Regions from separate parts of the Homo sapiens genome. Here regions 1, 2, 3, 4 and 5 are each linked to region 6. Evidence: promoter capture Hi-C in human tissues and cell types (Jung and others, 2019). All regions are on one chromosome and are shown on one strand. The core of a region is centred on a gene start or on the middle of the fragment in contact, and the rest is flanking DNA. Distances in the headings are between cores, read along the strand shown. Region 1 overlaps LOC105371525 (a long non-coding RNA gene). Region 2 overlaps MYH10 (myosin heavy chain 10). Region 3 overlaps LOC105371525 (a long non-coding RNA gene). Region 4 overlaps CCDC42 (coiled-coil domain containing 42). Region 5 has its middle 13 kb from the start of MYH10. Region 6 holds the start of ODF4 (outer dense fiber of sperm tails 4).

Region 1 (3,496 bases), core at 934-3,433, 340 kb before region 6:
GGGCCCTATTGTTCTTAAAGAAATCGAGACACCACCACAACCCAAATGCATTTCTTAGTTGTTGTGGTTTCTTCGGGTCAGTCTCTGTGTCTGCTGAGTCAAAGTGTGTAAGAATGTGCCATTACTCTGCCTTTTACTACAGAAACGTGGTTTTGTGTTTATTTTTAAAGGAAGATTTGATTTCCAGAGATGAGAATCCCAGGGACAAAACAGAAGACTTCTAAATGATCTTCTATCTTTAACCTTACCCTAACCCCATAATTTTTTATTTCCTACACGGAATGATCTTTTTGCTTTTTTTTTTTTTTTTTTTTTTTTTTTTTTTTCTGAGACGGAGTCTCGCTCTGTTGCCCAGGCTGGAGTGCGGTGGTGTGATCTCGGCTCACTGCAAGCTCCGCCTCCCGGGTTCATGCCATTCTCCTGCCTCAGCCTCCCGAATAGCTGGGACTACAGCCCACCGCCACCACACCCGGCGAATTTTTTGTATTTTTAGTAGAGACAGGGTTTCACCGTGTTAGCCAGGATGGTCTCCACTAAAAATACAAAAATTAGCTGGGCATGGTGGCATGTGCCTGTAATCCCAGCTACTCGGGAGGCTGAGGCAGGAGAACCGCTTGAACCCGGGAGGTGGAGGTTGCAGTGAGCCGAGATTGCGCCACTGCACTCCAGCCTGGCGACAGAGCAAGACTCCATCTCAAAAAAAAAAAAAAAAAAAAAAAAAAAAAAGAGTGCCTCTTATGTTGTGGGCATGGCTTATTTATTCCTACAGATACATTGAAAATAAAATCTCTAAAGAACGTACCAGGATTCATGGTTACCCCTTATTGGGGAAGGACTAGGCAGATGAAACTCAGTGATTAGAGGGAAAATTTTGTACTAGATAATTTGAAACCATTTTTTAAATTTTGAAACAATCTCAAATTTACACAAAAGCTACAAGCATGGTAAAAAAATATCTTTTTCTCCTGAACCATTTGAAAGTAAGTTGTTGATATGATGCCCCATCACCTGTGGATACTTTAGTATCTAAATTCCTACAGGGAAACCCCCACATATGCACAATACAATCAACAAGATCAGGAAATTAACACTGATATATTTCTACCTTTCAAGTGTCCCGATAATGTCCTTTATAGCAAAAGGATCCACTTCATAATCATATGTTGCCTTCATTCTCTTTCAATCTGGATCGTTTCTCAGTCTTTTCGTAGCCTTCAAGACCAGAGAGATTACAGGCCAATAATCAGACGGGGTCTTGCTCTGTTGCCCAGGCTGGAGTGCGGTGGCACAATCTTGACTCAGTGCAGCCTCTGCCTCCCAGGTTCAAGCGGTTCTCATGCCCCAGCCTCCCAAGTAGCTGAGACTACAAGCAGGCACCACCACGCCCAGCTAATTTTTGTATTTTTAGTAGAGACAGGGTTTCACCATGTTGGCTAGGCTGGTCTCGAACTCCTGACCTCAGGTGATCCACCTGCCTCGGCCTCCCAAAGTGCTGGGATTACAGGGGTGAGCCACTATGCCAAGGCATAGGCATGCTGTGATATTTCCTCATGATTAGATTCAGCTTACAAATCTTTGGCGGGAATATCACAGGAGTGACATATGACCTTCTCATTGCATCTATCAATCGGCACACAATTACAATTTGTCCCATTACCGATGACATTAACATTAATCGCTTTATTAATGTGGTGTCTGCCAGGGTTCTCCTTGGCAAAATTCCTCTTTTTCCCTTTCTAACAAATGAGATTTTGTGGGGAAGCACTTGAAGACTATGCAAATGTCTTGTTCTGTTATCAAATTTTCAATTTATTTACTTTTTGATTTATAGTTTTCTATTTTATTACTATTCAACTTCCCATGCTTTTTCTGGAACCATGTGAATGTATTCACTATTTTAAGAAATTAATTTCTAAGAAGAAAGGACCTGAAGTCTAAAAGCTCCACTGATCATAGGTGTTCACTGAATTCATCCTTTTCTTTTGGCAAGGCTTAGGGCATGTATGACCCAAGGTACATGGGGGGTGTGTGTGGTGATGGTGGTGGGGGTGGGAGAGAGTGGAGTGTTAGCAACCCCTGTGGGTCACAGGACTGGGAGTGGGGAGGGGTATTTTGCCGGATGGAAATGGGCGACTATTACCAAAAGCAGGAAGAATGGAAACTGGACATCAAAGACAATCAGTGTCAGCCAAGCACGAGTGGCTCACACCTGTAATCCCAGCACTTTGGGCGGCCGAGGCGGGAGAATCCCTTAAGCCCAGGAGTTACAGTCCAGCCTAGGCAAGCAAGACTCCATCTTTAACAAAAAAAAAAAAAAAAAAAAAAAAATTTTGTTTAATTTAGCCAGTCACAGTGGTGCACCTGTAGTCCCAGCTACTCAGGAGGCTGAAGCGGAAGGATTTCTTGAGCCCTGGAGTTCGAGGTGGCAGTGAACCATGATTGTGCCACTGCATTCCAGCCTGGGTGACAGAGCAAGACCTTCTCTCAAAAAATAATTAATTAATTAAAAAGATAATTAATGCCAAGAAGAGTTCCCAAAGTGCATATAAGAAAAACAAAACACTTGTGGAAAAATAGGAACGCTTTTACACTGTTGGTGGGAGTGTAAACTAATTCAACCATTGTGGAAGACAGTGTGGTGATTCCTCAAGGATCTAGAACTAGAAATACCATTTGACCCAGCAATCCCATTACTGGGTATATACCCAAAGGATTATAAATCATTCTACGATAAAGACACATGCACATGTATGTTTATTGCGGCACTATTCACAATAACAAAGACTTGGAACCAACCCAAGTGTCCATCAGTGATAGACTGGATTAAGAAAATGTGACATATATACACCATGGAATACTATGCAGCCATAAAAAAGGATGAGTTCATGTCCTTTGCAGGGACATGGATGAAGCTGGAAATCATCATTCTCAGCAAACTGTCACAAGATCAGCAAACCAAACACCGCACGTTCTCACTCATAAGTAGGAGTTGAACAATGAAAACTCATGGACACAGGGAGGGAAACATCACACACCAGGGACTGTGGGGGGTGGGGGGCTAGGGGACAGATAACAGGAGAAATACCTAATGTAGGTGACAGGTTGATGGGTGCAGCAAACCACCATGGCACGTGTATACCTATGTAACAGAACTGCACATCCTGTACGTGTAACCGAAAACTTAAGAGTATAATTTAAATAAAAAATAAAATAAAGTTGGGTTGAATTATATTTTAAAAAAGAAGAAGAAGAAAAGAAAAAGGAAACACAAAAAACAGGCTATGACCAGATGGCATTCAGAGTCTACTGTTGGAAAATGGGAAATTTTGGGGCCAGGGATGGTGGCTTACGCCGGTATTCCAGCACTTTGGGAGGCCGAGGCGGGCGGATCACGAGGTCAGGAGATGGAGACCATCCTGACTAACACGGTGAAACCCCGTCTCTACTAAAAATACAAAAAATTAGCCGGGCGTGGTGGCGGGCGCCTGTAGTCCCA
Region 2 (3,296 bases), core at 260-2,759, 270 kb before region 6:
ATCCCTTCCTTTTTAGTTCTGTCCATTTTTGCTGTGTACATGCTGAAGCTATTATCACGTATATACAGATGTAGAAATTTGATGTCTTTCTGGCAAATCATGGAATGGTCATTTTTAGTGATGTTGTTTTCTTGCAAAATTGACTGTTGTTTTCTTGCAAAGTCTGATATTTGCATTAGCCTTTTTTTTTTGGATTAGTGTTTGTGTGGTTAATTGCTTTCTTAACTTACTTTCAGCTTTTCTGTGCCTGTGCCTTTAAAATATGTCTCTCATAAACTGCTTATGGTGGTTATTTTTGTCCCAAATCTGACAATATTTTTCAGCTGGAATATTTAGTTTATGTACATGTGATGTAATGACTGTTACATTTTAGCTTAAATCTGTCCTCTGATTCATTGCTTTCTTTTTATCCTACCCGCTCTATGTTTATTTTTTAATCTTTTTGTCCGTTGGTTATAATTTTTATTATTCTGTCTTTTCACCTCGTGTTAGCTGTCCATTTTTGCTATTTGCTTAGCTATTCTTTTAGTGGTTACATATTCCAACATGGATCCTTGACCTGTTAGACATGTGGAGCTCTTATTCTTTTGTAGATCATGATAGGTAGGGCCTGAGAGCACCTGAACAAATTTATTTCCTCTTCCTTCCTAATTTATGTGCTTTTGTTGTTTAATTCTCTCTATATTTTAAAACCCACAAGACACATATTACATTTTAATACTGTCGATATTCATTTAGTTTTATCCATTACTCTTTTTTTTCCACATCTTTTAGCTTCCGTTCTTTTAGAAAGGGCCCCTTTTATCTGAAGTATCTACTCGTCCTTTATTTTTGAAGTTTTTTTGGTTTTTGCTGGATTTGGAATTCAGAGCCGGCGGTTGTTTTCTTTTAACATTGTGAAAATGCCATTGCATCGGGTTCTGCCTTTCGTCTTTTTCTGTTGAGAATTCAGCTTGTAGTTTGATTGTTGTTCCCTTGAAGGTCATCGGTTTTCCTTTTCCCACCCCGGCCACTGGCTGTCTCTAAAATTTTCTCTGTCTTTGGATTTCAACACTTTTACTGTGATGGGCTTAGGTAAAGTTTTATTTTGTATATAGTGGGTCCTCCTTGTCTTCAAGGGATACATTCTAAGATCCCCAGTGGATGCCTGAAACCACAAATGGTACTGAACCATATATATATGATGTTTTTTCCTATACATACATACCTATGATAATTTTTTTTTTTTTTTGAGACAGAACAGAGTCTCCCTCTGTAGCCCAGGCTGGAGTGCAACGGTGCAATCTCGGCTCACTGCAACCTCCACCTGCCAGTTCAAGCAATTCCACTGCCTCAGCCTCTTGAGTAGCGGGGATTACAGGCGTGCGCCACCACGCCTGGCTAATTTTGGTATTTTTAGTAGAGACGGGGTTTCACCGTGTTGGTCAGGCTGGTTTTGAACTCCTGACCTCGTGATCTGCCCCCTCCTTGGCCTCCCAAAGTGCTGCGATTACAGGTGTGAGCCACCGCACCTGGCCATACCTATGATAAAATTTAATTTACAATTTAGGCGTGGTGGGAGATTAACAACAATAACTATTAAAATAGAGCAATTAAAACAATATACTTAATAAAAGTTATGTAAGTGGTTTCTCTCCCTCTTTCAGAATATCTTATTGTACTCTTCTTGTGATGATTTGATGAATTTCTTTTTCCTAGTTCACAAATTCACAGATAGAAGATTGATTCTTCCCATAGATCCTAGCAGCCTCAGCATATGATTTTATCGTTATTAAGTTGAAAACTTACCATATCACTTAAAGGAAGCACTTTGTGGCTTCTCTTTGGCATATCAGAATTGCCAGCATCACTACTCTTGTGCTTGGGGCTATTCTTAAGTAAAATAAAGGTGACTTGAACACAGTTGATCTGAGATCTGAGAGGGCTACCAAGTGATTAATAGCTGTACAGCATGATGATGCTGGACGAAGGGATAATTCACGGTCTGTGCACGATGGAGCGGAATTGTGCCAGATTTCATCACACTACTCAGAATAGTGCACAATTTAAAATGTATGAACTGTTTATTTCTGGAGTTTTTCAACAAATATTTTTGGACCACAGTTGATTGTGGACAACAAACTGCAGAAAGTGAAACCACAGATAAGGGGCACTACTGCATTCAGCTTGGAGATTGTAGTGGTTTTGACTCTGTGGCTTGATGGCTTTTGTTGGTCCGGGAAAATTCTTAGCCATTATCTCTTCAGATACTGCTTCTGCCTCATTCTCTTTTTTCTCCTTCTTGGACTCACATACTTCACATGCTCCAGATCGTTTCACCTCGTCCCATCTGGGTCTCACATTCCTCTACATTTTTATCCTTGTTTTTCCCCCATGGATCACTCTGGCTGTTTGCCTCTGATTAAAATGCCGTGTAACTAATTGTTTCTTCAGCTGTATCTAGCTTGCTGTTTAACACATGAATTCTTAATTGTAGTTACTGGTTTTCTTTTTTTGTTTTGTTTTGTTTTGTTTTGTTTTTCAGTTTTAGAATTTTCATTTGGGTTTTTCCTTTAATAGTTTCCAGTTCTCTGTCAGAATTCTCAGTCACGTCTTTAATTACTTGAACATATTGTAACCCAGGGCAATAATACAAGTCAATAAAAATAGACACACAGAGGTTCCAGATATTATCTTGGATTTCAGCCACAACTTGTTGCCTCATATGCCCAGTTATTGTGTACAAGGAATTGTGGAAATAGTTTGAGACTCTGGCTGGCATTAAGCTTATTCTAGAGTTTTGCTTTGGGCAGGCAGGCTTAGGGAAACTAGGACATGTAGTCCATGCAGGAGTTGACTTCTGTTCCAACTGGGCTTCACGCTGTGTGAGGGCTGGTCTGTTTCTCATATAGTCTTAACTCTTAGGGTGTAGCCATCAGGGTCCCAGCTGAAAGCTTGGGGTATTTACCACCGCCACACCAACCTCTTCCTGAGTAGACTGGAATGTTTTAATTTTTGTTCTCTTAGACTTTTGTGCTGCTGAAAGCTCTGCTTAGCATCTTCTCAGCAACGGGTTTTGGGATGCATAACTATTATCTATCTAAGAAAGAAATAACAATTCTCTAATCATCAAATATTCAGTTACTTTTCTTATTTTCCTTTTGTCTCATAAATAATCTCATAAATAGTTGGTCTGTACAATTCAGGATCCAAACAAGGTTGACATATTGAGATTGGTTGCTTAGTCTGTTTTGTGTTGCTATAACAAAATAACACAGATTGTATGATTTATAAACAAGAGAAGTTTATTTGGCTTA
Region 3 (3,263 bases), core at 298-2,797, 360 kb before region 6:
TGGAAAAACCTTTCCAGAAGCTGGTCGTGAAGGGAAGGAAGGCAGTAACTGGAGAAGGTCTTGTGTTGGAGAGGGTTGGTTGGTTTGTTCTTTCAGTGGGAGAGACCTGAAATGTTTAAATGTTGATGGGAAGGGTCTGGTTTGGAGGAAGCGGTTAAATATAGAAGAGAAGCGAGTCACCCATAGTATAAGGCTCCTGGAAGCTGGAGGCTGAAAGTTGACAGTGAAGAATGCCATGAGGTGGAATGGGGAGGCCATGGCAAGTGCCACATCTTAGCAGGTGCGTAGTGAGAAAAGACACAGCCCCTGAGAGACAGGCTGAGACTCACTGGTCCCTGGGGCCACTTCCGCTCTGACTTCCAGTTCCAGTTCTGGTTCTTCTGCGTGTCCTTACAACAACCTCCTTTTTCCCGACGATATGTGTTCATTCAACAAATATTTATGGGCCACCTACTACATGCTAAGCCCAGTCCTGACAGCTGCAGAGAGGGCAGTCAGCAAGACCGATGCCCGTCCCTACCCTCAGAATCTTTTCTTGCATCCGACGAAGCTGAGTGACCAATCCCTTTGGCAATACAGATGCCCTCCATTTGGATTGGTTTATGAGAGAGCAACAAATAGAGGCAACAGATATGAGGGTCAGAAGATAGTGCACTTCCCATAACAGGAAGGGGGCTCTTGGACACAGCTCCTCTTCTGGAAGGTCTTGGGGGCTTTGTTGCGGGGAGGTGTCCAGATGTGTCTCTGGGGTAACTGGATGCAGAGATTCGCTCTCTGCTGTGAAGGTGCTGAGATAGGCACGTGCCTGTGCTGAATCCTATACAAAGAAAGCGAAAGAAACCAACAAATTGACCCCCCCCACACACACACATAGAAGCATCTCCACTGTTTGTTTGCTGTTGCTGTTCTTTTCTTTTTTGGTGTAGAAATTGAGCACATACACAAAGGAATCTCCACTGCCCATCACTCTAGCTGCTGCTGACCTCTCCTCCAAACACTCCTATGTGCTCCATGTGTCCCATTTGACTACGAGTCACATACTTTCTCTAACATCTTAGTTTCAGCTACTCAAAACCAGCACTGATTCTGGTCTTTTCTGTTATGTGGGCCCATACATTTCTTTCTATACTTCAGTTTAAAATGAATTTTTTTGGCCAGGCATGGTGGCTCACACCTGTAATCCCAGCACTTTGGGAGACCAAGGTGGGACGATCACCAGAGGTCAGGAGTCCAAGACCAGCCTGGCCAACATGGTGAAACTCTGTCTCTACTAAAAATAAAAAAATTAGCTGGGCGTGAGGGCAGACACCTGTAATCCCAGCTACTCGGGAGGCTGAAGCAGGAGAATCACTTGAACCCAGGAGGCAGAGGTTGCAGTGAGCCAAGATCGCGCCACTGCACTCCAGCCTGGGCAACAAGAGCAAAACTTCTTCTCAATAAATAAATAAATAAATAAATAAATAAATAAATAATAAAATAAATAAAATAGAAGTTTAAATCTCTTGTAGTGAAAAGAATCTTATCTAAGAGACCCAGAGTCAAGTCCTGCCCCACCTTACCTGCCTGCCACCCTGGGCCAAGCACCCCATCAAGGACATCTCTGCCTGTATTAGTCATCTATGGCTGCATGACAAATTACCCCAAAATTTAGTGACTGCAGTGGCCAATCTCCAAGATGGCCTTAAAGACCCTCACCTCCTGGAACTGGTGCCCTTGCATAGTCTCCTCCCTGATGGTATCACAGTAGCTCTGAACAGAATACAACGGAAGTGACTGTGCGGCTGCCAAGGGTGGGTCATAAAAGACAGTGCACCTGCCCTTCACTTGCCCTAAGCATGTCCCACTGCATTGCATTGGGATTTCCAAACGAATACACAGGCACGTCCCTGGCCTAGCCCTGAGGAGCCAAGGAGGTGGAAGCAAAGCCTCGGCTGAGTCCTAAAATATGATCCTCCCCTCTGAATGCACAGGGAACACAGGTCTCTGAGGCATGTGCCATGAAGGACACTCACCCTTCAGAACAGGCTTTCGAACCCTCCAGGATGCCAGGGAACACATCTGATCAATGTATCCACACTAAAGCGGAGCATCAGACAGATCCCCAGGCCCTATCTCCCTCCTGGACCACACTGGAGGGCTTTCTCAGGGACCTCCTGCAGCCAATGCCCACCACTGTGGTCAGCTAAAGGAGGAGCCACAGTTCCCGCGGGCGAGGCGTGAGGGGACACACATCCGAGCTGAGCCTTGGATGGGGGAGGCTGGGCTCTAGACTCTGTGCTTCGCCCCCCACTCCCACCACCTCTGCTGACCAGCTGTCTCCGCTGCTGTCTGTGTCTTCCCCTTGCGGAGAGCCCAGAGCATTCTCCAGCTCCCTTTCCATCAACAGCCTCCTGGCTCTCCCGCCCACGCACTTCCCACTTCCACTCCTCCTCTCCCCTTCCTGGCTGAGTGCCCTCCCCCAGGCCTGCCGTCTCTCCCTGGTTCTCATTTGAACATCATTTTTCTTCTTTTCTTCCCTTTTGCTAAATGTCCTTGCTTATGTGATGTGGCATTGAGTATACATTTCCGGGCATATTCGTGTGTGTGTGTGCGCGCGCGCGCGCGTGCACACGTGCCTGACCTGACCCATGCTCCGCGGTGGTGGACTGAGCTGTGAGATAGAAGGCTGGGAGCTGGGAGTGGGAGATGGTGACAGAGACCCAGTCCCTTTAACATCTCCTAGAAAAAGGCTCCATGCTCTGGCCCCTGTTTACCTCCAGCCTCACGTCTCTCCACACCTGGAGGCACTCAGCCCCATCTGGTCTCTCTCCCCCGCTTTCTCTCCTCAGCCCGGGGTTTCCGGTTCTAATCCCCATCCATCATTAGGCTAACTACTGCTTGTTCTTTAAGATTCAGCTCAAGTGTCGCCTCCTCCCAGAAGCTTCCTTGAGCCCTTGTGTCTGGCTGGATGCCCCGTATGGCAGCAGTCCATTGCCTCATCCAGGACACGCTGCGTGAGAGCCAGGATCTGCTCTATACTGTCACCTTCCTCTGGCCTCCTGCACAATGTCTGGCCCAGAGTGGGAGCTCCCTTGCAGGGTGGTGCACGCAGCCATGCATCAGGTGTGGATGCTGGGGACAAGGCAGAGCAGAAGAAAGGAAGAAAGAAAGTTTGGGGAGAGAAAAATTGTGTGTGTGTGTGTGTGTGTGTGTGTGTGTGTAAATTTTATTCTATTTTGTTCCCCCAGATAAGCTATGTGGACTGAACATTTTTCCTGGCAGGT
Region 4 (3,254 bases), core at 602-3,101, 400 kb before region 6:
CTGAGGTGGGAGGATCACTTGAGCCCAGGAGTTCAAGACCAGCCTGGGCAACAAAGTGAGACCCCCCCCAAATCTGCAAAAAATTAAAAAATAAAAATCAGTCAGGAATGGTGGCACACACATGTGGTCCCATCTACTTGGGAGGCTGAGGCAGGAGGACTGCGTGAGCCCAGGAGGTCAGGGCTGCAGTGAGCTGTGTTTATGCCACTGTAGTCCAGCCTGAACAATAGAGTGAGACCCTGTCTTTTAAGACAAATTATTGCACGGATGCTTTTTGTACAGTTGGTTTGTTCCAATGAGAGTCCATATAAGGTCCTCACACTGCCCTTAGTTGGTATGCTTCTTAAGCCAGACACAAAAGAGGTTATATCGTATGATTCCATTGATGTGTTTAAAAACAGGTAAAATTAATCTTTATTGATAGAAGTCAGAATATTGGTTTCCTCACTGGTCGGGGGAAGACACTCACTAGCAACCCTTCCTCATTTATTTGCTAGAATACTACCATAAAGAAAAGGACTTCATAAAGAGATCCTTTCCTTCATCCACCATTTGATTACTATGTGGGTCTCGCAGAGAAAGTTTGTTAAATGCTTTATTTAGTTTTCAGAATAATGAATTTGTTCTCTAGCACTGACCTGTAATGTTTCTAGTATCATTGTGAACTGATGGATTTTTAACATATTTGATATGTTTTAATCCTTTGCACTTATTCTTACTAATGTTCAAATCATCTCATCTTTGGGCAGTGGGTGGCTCTTCGATTTGGCACCTAAATCCTTTTGACATCAGCATTAAGTTTAGAGGTGTGTTCCTAGTAGCTCTGATGTGGTCCATTTATTTGAACTGTGGTACACTGTTGCACTGTGTGCCAGATGAACTTTCAGAAATGCACACGTGAATTGTCTGTTTCTTAAAATCCTTCAATGGATAAAGTCCACACTCCTTCCCAAGGTTTACTGAGCTCGCTTGCTTGCTTGCTTTTCTTTTTTTCTTTTTCTTTCTTTCCTTTTTCTTTTCTTTTTTCTTTCCCTTCCTTCCTCCCTCCCTCTTCTTTTCTTTTTTTCTTTTCCTTCCTTTCTCCCTCCCTCCCTCTCTCTCTTTCTTCTTCTTCTTCTTCCTTCCTCCTTCCCTCTTTCTTTCTTCTTCTGCTTTCTTCTTCCTTTCTTCTTCTTCTCAGTCTCTCCCTCCCCATCTTGAACTCAGGCTACCTTCAGCATCCTGAACATACAACCCCCTATTCCATTCATCTTTGCCCAGGCTGTCTCCTTCACCTGTAGCACTGCCTCACCTCCCTACACCTGCTTTTGCTAGCTATCTTCTATTTATATACCTCTCATCTCATTTCAGCCACACTTTCTCCCATGAAACCTTTTCTGGCTGTTCCTACCTCTTTCCGTGCTGGGTTGGGTGGCCCTTCCCCAAAGAGGCATATTTGGGGAAAGGCCAGCAGGGCAGTTCCCAGGACACGCATCCATCACTGGAGATGTCACGAGATGGAGAAGGTGCTCGGGAAGTTTCCCCTGGGCGGCTGAAAGGCATGCTTTGATAAGCCCCTAGGAAGGCAACTTGGTATCACAGAACTGGTGTTCATGCTGCCTTCTAAAGAGCGTGGGTTTCATGGCTTCTGTTCCACTGAGTGGGACCTGAGGGTTAGGGCCAGAGTGGCATGGTTCTGGACCAGGCTGGGGGAGGTGAGCTGAGTCTGGCAGGCCACCTGCCCCACCAGCACCCTCTCTATCCCTGCTTCTCCCTCAGTAAATGAACAAATACCAGAGATCACCAACGTGAAGGCTTTCCCAGAGTCCCCTCCAGCCCTATCCCCCAGTCATAGATAGGGCTTATCTTGCTGTTGTAACTGACTGTTTACTTGTCTGTCTGTCCTCCCTCCATGCCACCCCCCAAGCTGTAAGCTTCCTAAGAGCAGAATCTGGTTTTCCTAACTCCTGCTATTTCCCTAGCATTTAGCATAGCTCCTGGCTTGTAAGTGGTTCCTGGTACAATCTTGTTGAATAGGAAATTCTTGCCTTGGAAGACATTGCAAAATGCCTTCCATCAGCGATTATCAACCCTGGCTGTGCCTAGAGCCACCAGGGGACCTTTTGCAAAATTCAGATGCCAGAGACCACAGAAGACTTGTTTATTCATCTGAATCTCTGGGGGTGGAGACTGGCAGGTGTCCTTTTTAAAGCCCCTACAGGTGATTCTCACATGCAGTTAAAGTCGAAAATCCCTAGCCCAGTTGTGCATCCCCCTGCCCAACAAATGGACCGTGGCCCGTACAAACCCAGGAGAAGCAGGCAGCGGAACCCCAGTGTCCCTCACAGCCTCTGGCCGTGACCCTGGCCAAGGGCCTGCCTGCCCAGGTGTCCAGGTGTCCAGGCATCCAGGCTGGAGGTTGGCAGGACTGGGTGGCTCCCTCAGGCCCCAGGGGCTGGCTGTGCATTGACCTGAGCCCCTGACCACAGTTCGAGGAGATCCATGAGGTGATTGCACGCTACAAGACGCTGGTGAGCATGCGCCACGACCTCATGCAGTCTGCGCAGGAAGGCCAGGAGAAGATTGAGCGCGCCAAGGCCCGGCTGGCGCGCTACATGGAGGAAAAGGATGATGAGATCCTGCAGCAAAACAATGAGCTGGCAAGGCTGCAGATGCGCTTTGACCGTGCCCGCAGCAATGTCATCTTCTGGGTGAGGGGCCCGGGGCGGGCCGGGGGCTCCCAGGCACTGGGTGAGTGCGGGCCCTGAGCATACACACACACACATACACACAAACACACACACACCACATGCTGTGCTCATGCCCCGTCCTTATCCACTCTCCAGGAATCTCGCTGGGCGCACATCCAGAACACCGCAGCCAAGAAGACCCTCCTGCTTGGCACCATTAAGATGGCCACGCTGAACCTCTTCCAGATCGTGAGCAAGCACCTGAAGGAGGTGACTGAGGTGGCACTGGAGGACACCCACAAGCAGCTGGACATGGTAGGAGGAGGGGACAGGCACTGGGCCCGTGGGGTCGGCTGGGCCGAGGAGGTTGCCAGTTGGTTGGGTGGAAGAATGAACCTGACAGAGAAGCAGAGCAGGGACTCTCAAAATTTAACAACATCAGGATCACCTGGGAGGGTGAGGAGTATTACTGGGCCCCACCCGCAGAGTCTCTGACTCAGTGGATCTGAGATGAGAACTCATGAATTTACATTTTCAGCAAGTTCCCAAGTGACGCTGCTGGTTCGGGTTCCATACTTTGAGAAC
Region 5 (3,524 bases), core at 835-3,334, 300 kb before region 6:
CAACTATAACATTGCACATGCAAACACATGTGCAAATGGAAAGGAGAGTGAAGGTCCATAGTTCCCATGAGATTCTCAAAGTGGTCACTGGGTATTAAATGAAATAAGGCAAGCACAGTAAGACAATACTGTAAATCTCATTTATTTGTGGAATCTGAAAAAAGCTGATCTTATAGAAGTACAGAGTGGAATAGTGGTTACCAGAGGCTAGGGAAGTTAGCGGAGACGGGATGATGGAGAAAGATTGGTCAACAAGTACAAAATTGCAGTTAGATAGGAGGAATAAGTTCTGTAGCACAGCAGGATGACTACGGTAAATGATATCATATTAAATAGTATATATTTCAAAATAAGTAGAGAGGATTCTGAATGTTCTCATCACAGAGAAATGATACATGTTTGGGATGATGAATATGTTAAATACCATGATTTGATCATTACGCAATGTATACATGCATGGAATCATCACACTGTATCCCATAAATATATACAATTATTATGGGTCAATTCAAAACAAAAGGGCTCAGTGACTGTTTTCCACCAACACTTTAATACCATTTTAGAAATTAAAAGAACAGGATCACATTTAGTTGGGCTGCAGGTGTGTTGGGAGTAGAGGTAGAGAAAGACTTCCTGGTGGAGGAGGACTTTTTGGTAGATAAGCCTCCAAGAATGGATAGAATTTCAATAGATGGAGACATCAGAGAGGCCCTGGCAGAGAAGGTATTGTGATCAAAATCTAAGTAACGAGAAAGCGTGGGTTATGTTCAGGGAACTGGGTTTAATCCAGTTTTCAGGATTATCTATGAGAGGGGAGAGATGAGACTGCACATGTACTTGAGGCAGATTCGGGATCACGAATTGAGCCGACATTTACTATTGAATTCAAAAAAATTTTGGCTAAAGTATTCAGAGAAGCTTCAGGGCGAAGGTGAACTTTGAGCTCAGTTTTGTTGTTGCCGTTGTTGTTATGGTGATGAATCTCCCCCTGTCACCCAGGCTGGAATGCAGCAGCGTGATCTTGGCTCACTGCATCCTCTGCCTCCTGGGTTCAAATGATCCTCCCACCTCAGCCTCCTGAGTAGCTGAGACTGCAGGCACCTGCCACCACGTGCAATCAATTTTTGCTTTTTGTTTTTCTGTAGAGACAGGGTTTCGCCATGTTGCCCAGGCTGGTCCAGAACCCCTGGGCTCAAGTGCTGGGATTACAGACGTGAGTCACCATGCCCAGCTGGGGTTCAGTCTTGATGGGTGGGGAGGACCAGGCCTGGTGAATTTGCGGAGAAAGGGCCTTCCAGGAGGAAATAGTACAAACAAAGCGGGGAAGATGGCCAGAAAGAAGCAAAGAAGATGACAAGACCAACTGGAGGTGATAACTGGGAGAAACATCTGTGTTGAAGGACGAGGCGTGAATTGAGAAGGTGGGTTGACACTAGATTATGAGGATTGTAACATTCAAGCTGAACAATTTCTTATTTTCTCCAGGATCTCATTTTTCCCCACTAGGATTTGGCACTCCCAATAAAAATCATATCAACCAAAGTAATTTTTAAGGTTTCTTTCATAGAGAATTTCCAATATATCCAAAAATAAAGAGAGAGCGGTATACTCATTAGTCAACTTCAACAATTCATGAACAAACTTCTTTCTATACTCTCTCCCATACTATTTCACAGCAAATCCCAGACACCATATTATTTCATCTGTAATTTTATAGTGCCCATCTCTAAAAGAAAAGGATTCTTTATTTTTACATAACGACGATAGCATTACCATACATTTAAAAATTAACAGTACTTTATTAATATCATCTAATATCCAGTCTGCATTCAAATTTCCGATTGTTTCATAAATTACTTGTTTTCCATTGTTTCATAAACTGTTTGTTTATTTGAATCAGGCTCCCAAAAAAGCTTCACACGTTGCAATTGGTTGATGTATCTTTTAAGTATCTTTTAATCTATAGCATTGGCCCATCTCTTTGTTGTTTCCTTTACTTGCAATTTATTGGTTGAAGAAGCCAGGCTGTTTGTTCTGTGACGCTTTCTACATCCTGGATTTCGTCGATTGCATTACTCTGGTATGGTTTAACATGGTCTTCTGTCCTCTGTATTTTCTGTAAATTAGTAGATTCAGACGCTTAATAAGATTCAAGTTTGAGCACTTAAGAATAGCTAGATATGGCCAGGTGTGATAGCTCATGTCTGTAATCCCAGCACTTTGGGAGGGTGAGGTGAGTGGATGGTTTGAGCCCAGGAACTCGAGACCAGCCTGGGCAACATGACACAACCTCATTTCTACAAAAAAAAATACAAAAAATTAGCCAGGTGTGGTGGTGCATGCCTTTAGTCCCAGCTACCCAAGAGGCTGAGGTGGGAAGATCACCTGAGCCCAGGAGATCGAGGCTGCAGTGAGCTGAGATTGCATCATTGTACTCCAGCCTGGGTGACAGAGTGAGACTGTTTTTAAAAAAAAAAAAAAAAAGAAAGAAAGAAAAGAAAAGAATAGCCTCCTAAGAGCCCAATGGTAGGCCAAGTCTTTGCATGCATTGTCTTATTTAATCCTTAAAACAATCTCATTCAGTCTGTGCTATCATCATTGCCATTTAACAGATGAGGAAACTAAGGTCTTGAGATGTCATGTGGCTTGTCTAAGGACACAGTTGTAAGTGGTGGAGCCAATTTAATTGATTGCTGAGTCCAGATGTTTACCCCCTGTATTAGTCTGTTCTCATGTGCTAATAAAGACATACCCAAGACTGGGTACTTTATAAAGGAAAGAGGTTTAATGGACTCAGTTCCACATGGCTGGGGAGGCCTCACAATCATGGCAGAAGGCAAAGGAGGAGCAAAGGCACGTCTTATATGGTAGCAGGCAAGAGAGGTTATGCAGGGAAACTCCCATTTATAAAACCATCAGATCTCGTGAGACTTATTCACTACCACAAGAACAGTATGGGGGAAACCAACCCCATGATTCAATTATCTCCACCTGGCCCCGCCCTTTTTGCATGGGGATTACTACAATTCAGGGTGAGATTTTAGTGGGGACACAGCCAGATCATATCACCCCCCCATGCCATCCATCCTACCTGCAGCAGCAGATTACCACCTGCCTGCAGTCAAGGCACATCATGAATATCATGATTATCCCTTATCCCTTCCAATTTATCTTGCTTAGATATGCAGAGTAAATGCTGCTAAGCGTGTACAGGTATCTGCATGTCTATCAGAGTGGATCTTTCTGTGTAAGGGCTGTTGGTATGGTCTATTTGGGTGTACAACTTCTAATTAGCAGTCTTTCTATATTACATTCTTTCTTTACTTTTTATAAGAACTTTGATAGGCTTAGATTATTTCCTCTGCAGTTATGTATTGTTTCTGTATCATTTAAAACTCCAAGCAAGGAACAACACTCATTAATATACATCTATAGAAAATAACAAAAGAGCACTACACACTTCCTTTGAAAGGCAAAGGCTATGTACAAGTCCTTTCCAAATGGTAATGATAACGATGATAAAT
Region 6 (3,404 bases), core at 46-2,545:
CACCGCAACCTCCACCTCCCGGGTTCAAGCAATTCTCCTGCCTCAGTCTCCAGAGTAGCTGGGATTACGGGCATGTGCCACCACGCCTGGCTAATTTTTTGTATTTTTAGTAGAGACGGGGTTTCACTATGTTAGCCAGGATGGTCTCGATCTCCCAACCTTAGGTGATCTGCCTGCTTTGGCCTCCCAAAGTGCTGGGATTACAGGTGTGAGACGCAGTGCCCAGCCTGATTTTTTTTTTTTTTTTTTTGAGACAGGAGTCTCACTAAATTGCCCAGGCTGGACTCAAATTCTTGGGCCCAAGCAATCCTCCCACCTCAGCCTCCTGGATAGCTGAGACTACAGGTGTGCAGCACCATGCCCAACTCTCTCACAGCATTCTTAGAAGCACAGATTTGGCTCTGGGTTTTATCAAAAGCAGTGACATTTTCCATTGCACCAATCAAATCTATTTAGCCAGGCTACAGGATGAGAAACGATCATCGGAGGTCTCAGTGCCAGTGGAACCATCTTGCAGGCCAAAAAGTAAAGATGACCAGAAAGAGGGAACAAGAATACATCCAGGGTGCAGATACAGAGGCCAAGACAGGCTGGCGGCCTGGGCTGGGATGGGGGGTGGAGGGGCTCACCTTTCCCATTCTCTAAGTCAGAACAGCTCCTGGATTTGTAAAAGTGCAGGAGCCCCATGGACATAACGTGGGCTGATGTGTGGATTCTGTTGCTGACATCCACGGGCCAGCGCTGGTAGAAGAGGCTCCTAGAGAGGTCCAGCCATTTCTTGGAGAAGGCCACGACCAATAGTAGGATAAAGGCAACCAGGCTGAGCTCAGAGGCCAACACCTGGGCCATCCAGCGGAAGCTGTGTGTGATTCTCCATTGAAAGGGCAGCGGAGAGTTCTGGCGCTGGCCCAAGGACCTGTTACTACTGAGGGAGAGGGTGGAGGACAGCAGTCTCCCATCTTGTCCCAGCTCACCTGTGCCCCATCCTGCCTCCCCACTCTTCCTTTCCTTTCCAGGTCTCTGATGTTGGTCTCTTTCTCCTTCTGACCTGGGGAACTCATTCCCAGAGTACTCTGCATCCATCTTGAGCACCACTTCACCCTCTGTCTCCCCTTTCCCTCACCAGACTCAATTGTCTCTTCTCATCTTTTGGATATTTTCATCAGCTGCCACCATGCAGCCTGAGGTCTGAGAAAGAATGAGGAAGTCTAATAACAGACCTCGATCAAATAAGAGACTCTTGATCCAAGAGAAGGCCCCAACCCATTCAGCAGGCCAGGTCCCCTAACTGCCACGGAATTTTCCTGGGGCACAGTGAGATGGGGGAGGGAAGCCAAGTCTTCAGCAATTTTTTTTTTTTTTTTTTTTTTTTTTAGAGAGAGAGACAGGGTCTCCCTCTATTGCCCAGGCTGGGATGCAGTGGCACAACCTTGGCTCACTGCAACCTTGAACTCCTGGGTTCAAGTGATCCTCCCACCTCAGCCTCCTGAGTAGCTGGGATTACAGGATTGTGCCAGCATGCCTGGCTAATTTTTCAATTGTTTGTAGAGATGGGGTCTTGATATGTTACCCAGCCTGGTCTCAAACTCCTGGCCTCTGCCAGGCACGGTGGCTCACGCCTGTAATCACTGCACTTTGGGAGGCCGAGGTGGGTGGATCACCTGAGGTCGGGAGTTCGAGACCATCTTGACCAACATGGAGAAACCCCATCTCTACTAAAAATACAAAATTAGCTGGGCGTGGTAGCACATGCCTGTAGTCCCAGCTACTCAGGAGGCTGAGGCAGGAGAATTGCTTGAACCTGGGAGGCGGAGGTTGCGGTGAGCCGAGATCGCACCATTGCACTCCAGCCTGGGCAACAAGAGTGAAACTCAGCCTCAAAAAAAAAAAAAAAAAACTCCTGGCCTCATGAGATCCTCCCCACTTGGCCTCCCAAAGCACTGGGATTACAGGTGTGAGCCACCTTGCCTGGCCTGTGGCTCCAGCTCTAACTCTTTCCGGAAATCCTGTTTCTCAGGCCACAGCTCAGAACTGTGGATCTGACACCTCCCTCCAGCTTCTGCCTCCCTTTACATATGAGCAATGGTATGTGAGAGGCCCTCCTGTGGTCTGCATATGGTTAATTTGTCTTCACCAAACCTCATGCTGAAATTTGCTCCCCAGTGTGGTGGTGATGGGAGGTGAGAGGGCCTAGTGGGTGGTGTTTGGGTCATGGGGGCAGATGCCTTGTGATTGGATTAACGCCTTCCCTGAGACCTCACTCCATTAGCTCCCCGCAATAGCTGGTTGTTAAAAAGAACCTGGCGCTGTTACCAAGCAAAAGTGCTCGCTGCCAGATGTGCATAGAAGCCAATACTCCAATACTAGGGCACTAGGTTTTGAGAAAAGGAAAGCTTTATTGTGAGCTGACCCACGAGGATACGGGAATCCAGCTCAAATCTGTCTCTCTTTGCTGGTCTTAAGGCAGTACTTTTATTAGAAAAGGTTTAGGGGGAGGATTCTGGGATTAGCGGGTGATTGGTGGAAAGAAAGGAGAAGTCTAGAAAGTCCTTAATCATGTCTGGTTATCTCCAAGGTTCTTCGTGGGTTGCATGTGCAAATTTGGTGGCGTTAGTATGAAACAGCAGGTGGAAATTCAGGCTGTGACATCAGCAAGCTCGTTCTGTGCGGATTGCTGTCAGCCATACGGGTTCCCACTGATTTCAGCCAGTCCTGTTATAAGCAAAGGGATTTTTCAGCATTTCAGCAAGCTGTTTCTTAGCTGCCATCCTGTAAACTCGAAAATGTCTGTTAATCACTGGTTTATTTAACTGTTTGGGGCACAGTTTCAGCTCCTCCCTTACCTTGTGATCTCTGCACAAGCCAGCTCCCCCTTGCCTCCACCATAAGTGAAAGCAGCCTGACGTCCTCAACAGATGCCCAATCTTGAGCTTTCTGGCCATCAGAATTGTGAGCCAAATAGCCCTTTTTTCTTTATAAATTATTCACCCTCAGGTATTCTGTTATAGCAACACAAAATGGACTAGGACAGTCCCCTTTTCTCTTCCTAGTTCCTCTGCCCTAACCCCAACCCCAAATGCTCACTGATGGAGCAGGGGGAGGGAGCAGGAGCTTATCCCCAGGAAAAGATCCTCCCTCCATTGTTCTTTGGACATGTCTTGCAAAGATGTCATCGAGCTTCCCATTGCTTTCCCCAACCCTTCACCTCCCTCCCAGCTCTACTCACTGCTAGTCAATCACCACCAGTTCCTTCCCTCTTCTTTTGACTTTTCTTTTTCCTTTCTTTTTTTTCTCAGCACCAGAAAGAGGAGGATGTAGGATGAGAATGGGTCCTAGAGGTGTCATGCCTTCTGAGATTGTTATAATTTTATTTATTTATGTATTTATTTATTGAGACAGTCTTC

Evidence for each region. The method cuts DNA at HindIII sites, captures the fragments that hold promoters and counts their contacts. A contact is called where the count stands out against the background at its distance.
Region 1: a contact is called between a fragment that was not itself captured here and the fragment with the promoter of ODF4 in region 6, in 1 of the 25 tissues and cell types used here (spleen).
Region 2: a fragment that was not itself captured here is called in contact with the fragment with the promoter of ODF4 in region 6 in 4 of the 25 tissues and cell types used here (adrenal gland, lymphoblastoid cells, neural progenitor cells and 1 more).
Region 3: a fragment that was not itself captured here is called in contact with the fragment with the promoter of ODF4 in region 6 in 2 of the 25 tissues and cell types used here (spleen and stomach).
Region 4: a contact is called between a fragment that was not itself captured here and the fragment with the promoter of ODF4 in region 6, in 2 of the 25 tissues and cell types used here (lymphoblastoid cells and spleen).
Region 5: a contact is called between a fragment that was not itself captured here and the fragment with the promoter of ODF4 in region 6, in 2 of the 25 tissues and cell types used here (adrenal gland and spleen).

The regions. Positions count from the first base shown.
Region 1 is chr17:8,682,153-8,685,648 of GRCh38, reverse strand. The region is part of intron 1 of LOC105371525 (a long non-coding RNA gene); the gene reads right to left. Among named protein-coding and RNA genes, the nearest start is that of MYH10, 53 kb to the right of the region's middle. The HindIII fragment of the contact is 9,047 bases long and covers 1-3,496 here.
Region 2 is chr17:8,610,790-8,614,085 of GRCh38, reverse strand. The region is part of intron 2 of MYH10 (myosin heavy chain 10); the gene reads left to right. Among named protein-coding and RNA genes, the nearest start is that of MYH10, 18 kb to the left of the region's middle. The HindIII fragment of the contact is 6,260 bases long and covers 1-3,296 here.
Region 3 is chr17:8,698,000-8,701,262 of GRCh38, reverse strand. All of the region lies in intron 2 of LOC105371525 (a long non-coding RNA gene), which reads right to left. Among named protein-coding and RNA genes, the nearest start is that of CCDC42, 45 kb to the left of the region's middle. The HindIII fragment of the contact is 7,889 bases long and covers 1-3,263 here.
Region 4 is chr17:8,734,826-8,738,079 of GRCh38, reverse strand. CCDC42 (coiled-coil domain containing 42) reads left to right here. Exons shown (of 7, transcript NM_144681.3): 5 at 2,469-2,690; 6 at 2,826-2,984. Among named protein-coding and RNA genes, the nearest start is that of CCDC42, 8.4 kb to the left of the region's middle. The HindIII fragment of the contact is 9,119 bases long and covers 1-3,254 here.
Region 5 is chr17:8,641,595-8,645,118 of GRCh38, reverse strand. No RefSeq gene overlaps it. Among named protein-coding and RNA genes, the nearest start is that of MYH10, 13 kb to the right of the region's middle. The HindIII fragment of the contact is 4,355 bases long and covers 1-3,524 here.
Region 6 is chr17:8,337,731-8,341,134 of GRCh38, reverse strand. ODF4 (outer dense fiber of sperm tails 4) reads right to left here and starts at 1,295. Exons shown (of 3, transcript NM_153007.5): 1 at 630-1,295. The coding sequence starts at 1,083. It overlaps LOC124903916 (a long non-coding RNA gene), which reads right to left and starts at 3,078. Exons shown (of 2, transcript XR_007065607.1): 1 at 2,844-3,078; 2 at 2,377-2,712. The HindIII fragment of the contact is 12,554 bases long and covers 1-3,404 here.